Regions from separate parts of the Homo sapiens genome. Here region 1 is linked to region 2. Evidence: promoter capture Hi-C in 16 types of primary human blood cells and fetal thymus (Javierre and others, 2016). All regions are on one chromosome and are shown on one strand. Each heading gives the region's core, a stretch centred on a gene start or on the middle of the fragment in contact. The rest is flanking DNA. Distances are from core to core; before and after follow the strand shown.

The links. Contacts are between HindIII fragments. The CHiCAGO score rates a contact against its expected background, and 5 or more counts as called.
Region 1: a contact is called between the fragment with the promoter of AURKAIP1 here and a fragment that was not itself captured in region 2, in 2 of 17 cell types (endothelial precursors and megakaryocytes). The highest score is 5.3, in endothelial precursors.

Annotation. Positions count from the first base shown.
Region 1 is chr1:1,373,534-1,377,275 of GRCh38, forward strand. It overlaps AURKAIP1 (aurora kinase A interacting protein 1), which reads right to left and starts at 1,674. Exons shown (of 4, transcript NM_017900.3): 1 at 1,621-1,674; 2 at 1,172-1,257; 3 at 467-912; 4 at 203-369. The coding sequence starts at 1,223. The coding sequence ends at 268. RefSeq lists silencers at 1,415-1,464, 1,485-1,664 and an enhancer at 1,460-2,365. The HindIII fragment of the contact is 3,347 bases long and covers 1,056-3,742 here.
Region 2 is chr1:1,545,845-1,550,076 of GRCh38, forward strand. The region is part of intron 2 of SSU72 (SSU72 homolog, RNA polymerase II CTD phosphatase); the gene reads right to left. Among named protein-coding and RNA genes, the nearest start is that of TMEM240, 7.3 kb to the left of the region's middle. The HindIII fragment of the contact is 2,228 bases long and covers 1,100-3,327 here.

The DNA of each region.
Region 1 (3,742 bases), core at 424-2,923, 170 kb before region 2:
CAGCACACATTTGCTCACAGCGAGGCTGGGGCTCCTACAGGCCCAGCACCCTCTGGACGGCGGCCAAGAGCCAGCTAGAGAGAGGGACGGCCAATCTGCCACCCTGCTGCCCGGGTCTTCTGCAACACCTGGGACTGGCAGCAGCCTCAATCCTGAGAGACCTCACACCCGGCAAATGGAGCTCCAGACCCGCAGGAAAGGCTGAGTCCTCTGAGAATTTATTACTACGGATCACAGCAGCAACGGGCGGGAAGGGCGGCGCCAGACTCATTTGCCCCGCAGGTAGATCTTGGGGGTCTGCCAGCCTTCGGGGGCTTCCTTTAGCCCCGCCTTCAGCCAGATGCGCCTCAGGTCTTTCTCGAACTTGATCTGCAAGACGCAGAGAGAGGGACCGCCAAGTAATTCGTGGCAAAGAAACGTGTTCTCAGCACTTTGCCCTCCCAGGGCCAAGCAGGGGGCCACTCACCTGCTTGCGTCTCAGGCGTCCCTCCTGGACCTTCCTCCGCAGGAACCGCGTCTTCTTCACCAGCTTCCGGTACTTGTGGTGGTTCATCTTCCGCCGGCGGATCTTCAGCACGTTTTTGCACTGAATTTGAGGCGCATCCGCGACGCCTTCATCCCCCTGCTCGGCCCCTTCCCCTATCTGGCTGGGCGGACACTGGTAGGATTGCGGTGGAGCCACAGTCCCTGCGGTCCCGGTATCCAGTCTGGGCAGGAAGCAGCGGGCCGTGAGCCAGCTCTCCAGGGGGCTGACGGACATCTTCCTGGGGACCAGCATCTCCTCCAGCTCCAGCTGGGCCCCCTTGCGAGGGAGAGAGGCCGCCCTACCTGGGCCGGCCGGCGATGTGCTGTAAAGGGGCCCGCAGACCCGGCTGCCCAGCACTCCAGAGACGGGCCAAGGCGGGCGGCCGCCTGCAGAAAACCAGACGCCACGGTCACCGCTCGCGAGACCACACAGGCCCGTCGGGTTGAGGAGCAGCAGGTTCGTCCCAGCGAGGATCCCCCGCACCTCATTCCTGGCCTGAACCCCTGAGGTTCCCTCTGTGAGCATCGGAAGCTTAGAGGGGAAAGAGTGTGTGTGTGGCCACCGGCCCTGCCCCAGCGGAGCTGCTGAGACCCGCACTCCTAACCAGGTGTGCATCCTCCCATCCGCCCCCGCGCGGCTTCCTACCTGCCCAAGGAACGGCCCTCAACAGCTGGGAAGTCAGGCGCCCCAGGAGCATGGTCTGTGGGCGGCGGCCACAGGTCCCAGGGGAGCTGGAACACAAGTGCCCGTTCAGGTCAGGCGGCAGCGCCTTCAGTAGTCGCGGGCGGGCCGGGACTGGGGCGTCTGGTCCCGCCGCGACCCTCGCTTCCCTTCTCCCTCCGCCACCCCAACCCACAAGGAGGACTTTGCTTCCAACACAGCTCGCGCCCCGAGGCTCCCAAGCCCCCGACGCGGGCGGTGTCGCGCTCGGACGCACCGAAAGGTCCCAGAACGGGGAGGCCGGCCCCCTCCCCGGGTTCACCCCCGCGCGAATCGCGTTGCCTGGCGCCCGGACCCTCTCGGCTGGACCCCGGGCCCGCCTGCCGCAGCGCCCGGCGCCCTCAGGCCTCCCGCTGACCCTTCCCAAGCCCGACCTCGACGCGGCTCAAATTGACCGTTCTGCGGCCGCCCTCGGGCACTTCCGGTCCGTCCCCAAGTCGGCCCCGATCGGCAGCGGCCACCCGGCGGTTCCTACGCACAGCGCCCGCTGGCGTCCTCGCGGCCCCCGATTCTGCATTGGCTCAGGCCCCGCCGGGCCCGAAAGGCGACGGTTTCCGGTTAGTGGAATCACGGTCCCAGTCCTCGCGCGGTTCCTCAGCTCCGCCTGGTCCCTTACGGAGGCAAAAAACTACATTTCCCACAATCCCAGGGGGTGCGGGCCCTGGATATACCCGCAGGTCCAGAATCGTTTCCGGACCACCCAGGGGCCGGATTCCCAACGGGCCGACGGAAGTGCGGGCTCAAGACTACGGAAGTGACGTATCTGGCAACGGAAGTGGAGTTACGTGGAAGGCGGAAGCGTCTAGAGCTATTTCCCCCGTTTTTGCTAGAGACCAAGGACCCGGAATAAGCACTGAGCCTGCGGTACCGGGCCTCCCCGACTCCTCATTCCTGGGGTTAAAAAAAAAAAAATAAGACGCAGGCTGGGCGCGGTGGCTCAGGCCTGTAATCCCAGCACTTTGGGAGGCCGAGGCTGGTGGATCACCTGAGGTCAGGAGTTCGAGACCAGCATGGCCAACATGGTGAAACCCCGTCTCTACTAAAACTACAAAAATTAGCCTAGCGTGGTGGCAGGCGCCTGTAATCCCAGCTACTCGGGAGGCTGAGGCAAGAGAATCGCTTGCGCCCAGGAGGCAGAGGTTGCGGTGAGCCGAGATCGCACCACTGCACTCCAGTCTGGGTGACATAGATCCTGTCTCAAAAAAATAAATAAATAAATAAAATAAAAATCAGACTCACACTTTTTGTCTGAGAACTAAAAGCAGCCTCTCTGGTGGATTGGGTTTGGCTGAGCCCCTAATGATGCTCCCCAGAGTAGGCGCTGCCAACGTGTAGCTTCACCTTTCTACTCCAGACAGGCCCCTTTGACCTCCGTGAGGTTGGCTAATATAGAGACCCCAGCATGGACTTGCAGGGGCGCCTGGTGGGAGAGGGGTGTGGAGCAGAGCCTGCTGGGCCTGCTCGGAGACTTGCCTTGCAGGAGGGTCTTCCAGGGACGCTTAGCAGGAAGTGGAAAGGCCAGGTCATCTGCCGGGCCCAGCCTGGCTAAGCAGTGAGTGACAGGTAGGATAGGCCAGTGTGAGGACATAAAGTTCAGGCTCCAGGCCCACCTCTACAACTGAGGTCCCCAGATGACTCTACGTTACCCCTCAGAGGGGCTACTTGGGACTCCAAGCAGGAAGGTTTACGAACGTTATTTGCGGGCCCGCCCTTCACCCCTGCTGCACAGCTTCCCCTAGTGGATTTGGCCGTAAATGAGCAGACTGGTGCCTCCAGAGCAGCCCTCACCTTGGTGCCCCTGTGTTTGTCTTCACCCGGCTGGGGTCCAGGGAGATGCAAAGAATCCATCAGAGAACAGGTGAGCATGTTGAGAAGAACCAGAGAACCAGAAATAACCTGGGCTGGCAACCTTGGCCTTCAGGCTTCTGAGGCATTGACGTGCAGATATAAGTACCTCCCCTGAGTTAGGGACTGGTAGAAGAAACGGGATGTGGACATTTCAGTCTGAGAAAGTCTTGAGGAGCAGGATGAACCAGGGTGTCCTTCCCCCTCTCAGGAAGTAATTTCAGGGAGGTGAAGTGAGGAAGACCACTCTGTTGGGGTCCCTGTACCCAATAGGCTCCAGGCCAAAAGGGAAAGGTCCCAGCTAGAGCAGGACCCAGCTGCTACAAGGCTGGGGAATTATCATTCAGCTACAGGAGCTGCATGGAGCCGGCCCGGGAGGCTTGCAGACAGTGGCCACCCCGATGAATGCCCGGGCCAGACCTGACTGGCTGCCGCCCACAGGAGTGGCAGGAACACTTGTTGGAAGCGCCAGATGCTTGTGTGAGCAGAGCTGCCAAGCTAGATGAGCTGGAACTAGACTAGGAAGATCAATCCTTTACAAACATCTGAGGAAGAAAAAATGCAGTGGAAGAATCGGGGAGGGTGCATGGGTTATGATTCCTAATTTTTAAACAAAGGAACTCTAGTCTCTCAAGGGAAGTACACAGTTGC
Region 2 (4,232 bases), core at 964-3,463:
AGGGCAAGACAGTCGAGGAGGGAGATGCCACAGCCTCACTGACTATGGGATGGTGGAGGGCAGGATGAGGCCTGAAGGCACTTGGCGTCCAGCCCAGCTGAAAGGGGGCCTTGGGGTGAACGCTGACACACACCGGCCCCAGCAGTCCCAGGAAGGGGCCACAGGAGCCTCTGGGGTCCTCAGGGTGGGGCATCCTCCCACCATCCACAGTGGCCATGCCTGGCCTCAGGGGTTCCCAAGGAAGGGGCTCACTTCCCCAAAAAGAGAGACTGGGTTCCCAAAGATGAGCTCTGTGGTCTGCAGGAGCTCATTTGAGCCATTCCAGATGGTCAGGGACAAGTAACCACTTTCAGATAAACAGCCTAGCTGACAGGAATTCTAAGTGAACTCAGCTACCTTCCTGGGTAGCAAAAATAGTTTTTATAATAGTTTTATAATACATTGAAGTGGTTGATCTAACGGCATCTGACCCTGAGCTGCATCCTTGGGTCACTGTCAGCAGCGTGGAAGTCACACACCCACCCCTGACGTGTGTCTCCTCCTGCACATTGGAGTCCCGCCTGTGTCCCCGAGGCCCCTGGAAGCAGCTATGACACCCGGGTCCATCTCTGGGGAACTTAGTCCTTCAGCCGCTGAGAATCAAAGTCTGCGGAAAGAAGAGCTCGAGGCCGGGTGCGGCGGCTCACGCCTGTCATCCCAGCATTCTAGGAGGCCGGGCGTGGCGACTCACACCTGTCATCCCAGCACATCGAGAGGCCGAGGCGGGTGGATCACCTGAGGTCAGGTGTTTGAGACCAGCCTGGCCAAGATGGTGAAACCCCGTCTCTACTAAAAATACAAAAGTTAGCCAGGTGGGGCGGCACACACCTGTAATCTCAGCTACAGCTACTCAGGAGGCTGAGGCACGAGAGTTGCTTCAACCCGGGCGGCGGAGGTTGCAGTGAGCCGAGATCACACCACGGCACTTCGGCCTGGGCGACAGAGTAAAACTCCTTCTGGAAAACAACAACAACAACAAAAAAAAAAAAAAAAAAAAAAAAGGCCGGGCGCGGTGGCTCACACCTGTAATCCCAGCTACTCGGGAGGCTGAGGCAGGAGAAGCTTGAACCTGGGAGGCGGAGCTTGCAGTGAGCTGAGATCGTGACACTGCACTCCAGCCTGGGCAACAAGAGCAAGACACCGTCTCAAAAAGAAAAGAAAAAAAAGAGCTCAAGACGGCCTGACCTTGTTGTGTGCAGCCACATGCAGAGGGGCAGGTGCAGGGACCGGCTCACGGAGAGGAACCGGGGTCAGGGTGCAGGGGTCCAGTGGCAGCTTCATGGTGGGCACAGGGATCACCCTCCCTGCACATCCCTGAGCAAGACACAGCCGGGGGTGAGGCCGTGGGGGCTCCTGGGGATGGGACTGGTGTCACTGGCTGGCAGAGCTCATGGACGTTCAAGGCCAGCTCTTCCCTGAGGCCTGGACAGTTCTAAGTCCTTTCCTCCTTTACGTCATTCTCAACTATTTATGTAGATGAGGCAATAAATTAAGAATCATTCAGTTAAGGAGAAATGTCTACTTCAGGGACAAAGCAGCAGCCTCCTCAGCTACACAAGGATGAGCGAGCAGCCACCCTTCTGGATCTCCTGGCGAGGAGATGCGAGGTGAGGCCCCGCCCAGAGGGCTAGACCTGCAAGCCCCACCAGAGGCTGTGAGGACCTGAGGAGGACCAAAGGGACCACAGACCAAGCCATGAGCTCACAGGGACGCAAGATCCCACCTGAATTCCGGCAGCAAAACCACGGTGCCAGTGAGTGCCACGAGGCAAAGGCTCAGAGCAAGGCGAGAGGACAGGAGCCGCTGGCGGGTGAGGCGGGGCCTTCAATAGACAGGCTCAGGGCCACGGGGAGGCTGAGCAGGTTTCGGGCCTGCGTGCGAGAGCCTGCTCTTCAAGTCATGGGGAAATCCTTTCTGAAGGAAGAACCTAAGTACTGCCGGGCGGGAGGAAGGGGAGAGAGGCGCCATCGGAACAGAAACCTGTCCCATCTTCCGGACACCTGCGCCGCCCAGGTCCTGCAGAAGTCCCACTGACGCAAAGCGTTCGACATTGAACCCACAAAGAAAGAAACCAAAGACTCAGCCCGGGCAAGAAGGCGACACCAGGCGGAGGGCCTGACCCATGCTAGGGCCCCAACTGGGCATGAGGGCCTGAAACGTACCCAGAAAAGTGGGCCAAGAGAGGGCCCAGGGCAGGGCAGGCAAAGAGGATGTGCCATCCATAGAATCGACTGCCCCCATTGGACTCCCAGGGCCTGGACATCCGGCTTTGCACAGTCCCTGCGGCCTCAGGGACCACGTTCAGTAGAGGGCGGCCAACACCCGAAGGCCATGAAACAGAGGCACACAGGAGCCTCAGCTGAAGTTAACACACATCTAAGAAATAAACTCCCAGCTGGGCGCGGTGGCTCACACCTGTAATCCCAGCACTTTGGGAGGCTGAGACAGGCGGATCACAAGGTCAGGAGTTTGAGACCAGCCTGGCCAATATGGTGAAACTCATCTATACCAAATTACAAAAATTAGCCAGGCGTCGTGGCAGGCGCCTTAGTCCCAGCTACTCTGGAGGCTGAGGCAGGAGAATTGCTTGAAGCCAGGAGGCGGAGGCTGCACTGAGCTGAGATCATGCCACTGCACTCTGGCCTCGGTGACAGGAGCAAGACTCTGTCTCAAAAAAAAAAAAAAAAAAAAAACTCCCAAGGATGGGCCAAGAAAATTGTCCAGAGGTGAGATGTGGCAGCCACGGGGTGGGGTGCTGGGGGTGGGTGCAGTGGGCAGGCCCCTCCCCTGCCCTGGCTTCCACATGGACCGCGGTGAGGAAGGTAGCTCCGCTCACCCACTCTGCGTCCTCCCACTCGCCCCCGGAGGCCTTCTGGACTTTGGCGTAAACAGGAGGAGCAGGCCCATCAGACCCTTGAGTGAGATTCCCATGGGTTGAGCACGTGTGGCCAATCCCGAGAGGCCACCGGCCAGCATGAGCCAATGTCCTGGCCCTCCCTGCCCTGTTGGTGTCACTCCCGTCCCACAGTGACGTCTGGAACCCTCCCCCGGTGTGTGGCTGCATGGCCTCCTGAGTCTGGGGATGGGAGAATAAGGCTTGTGCTGGAGGCCTTGGGCTGTGACACATACCTGTGGTCCCAGCTACTCGGGAGGCCGAGGCAGGAGGATGCCTTGAATCCAGGAGGGACCCAGAGAGATCTGGAATATTGTCTCATGCAACAGAAAGTGTCATCAACACAGAATCACGTTAAAATTCTGTGGGGGACTAACCATCAGAGAAACAAACTAAGCTTTCTGTCCACACAGAGCAACAAAGAAACCCTGCCTCTACAAAAAATAAAAAATTACCAGCCTGGGGCCGGGCACGGTGGCTCACGCCTGTAATCCCAGAACTTTGCGAGGCCGAGGCAGGTGGATCACAAGATCAGGAAATCGAGACCATCCTGGCTACCACAGGGAAACCCTGTCTCTACTAAAAACACAAAAAATTAGCCAGGCGTGGTGGCAGGCGCCTGTAGTCCCGGCTACTCAGGAGGCTGAGGCGGGAGAATGGCGTGAACCCGGAGGCGGAGCTTGCAGTGAGCAAGATCGCACCACCGCACTCCAGCCTGGGGGACAGAGCGAGACTCTGTCTCAAAAAAAAAAAAGAAAGAAAAAGAAAAAAAAAGGCTGCAGCCAGGCATGGTGGCTCACACCTATAATCCCACCACTTTGGGAGGCCGAGGCGGATGGCTTATCTGAGGTCAGGAGTTCGAGACCAGCCTGACCAATATGGCAAAACCCTGACTCTACTAAAGTACAAAAATTATGGCTGGGCGCAGTGGCTCACGCCTGTAATCCCAGCACTTTGGGAGGCCGAGGCGGGTGGATCACAAGGTCAGGAGATCGAGACCATCCTGGCTAACATGGTGAAACCCCATCTTTACTAAAAATATAAAAAATTAGCCGGGCATGGTGGCGGGTGCCTGTAATCCCACTGCTCAGGAGGCTGGGGCAGGAGAATAGCTTGAACCCAGGAGGTGGAGGTTGCAGTGAGCCGAGATTGCGCCTCTATACTCCAGCCTGGGTGACAAGAGCGAGACTCTGTCTCAAAAAAAAAAAAAAAAGATGGCAAAACCCCGTCTTCTCTACTAAAAATACAAAAATTAGCCAGGCATGGTGGTGCACACCTGTGATTCCAGCCTCCTCCGGAG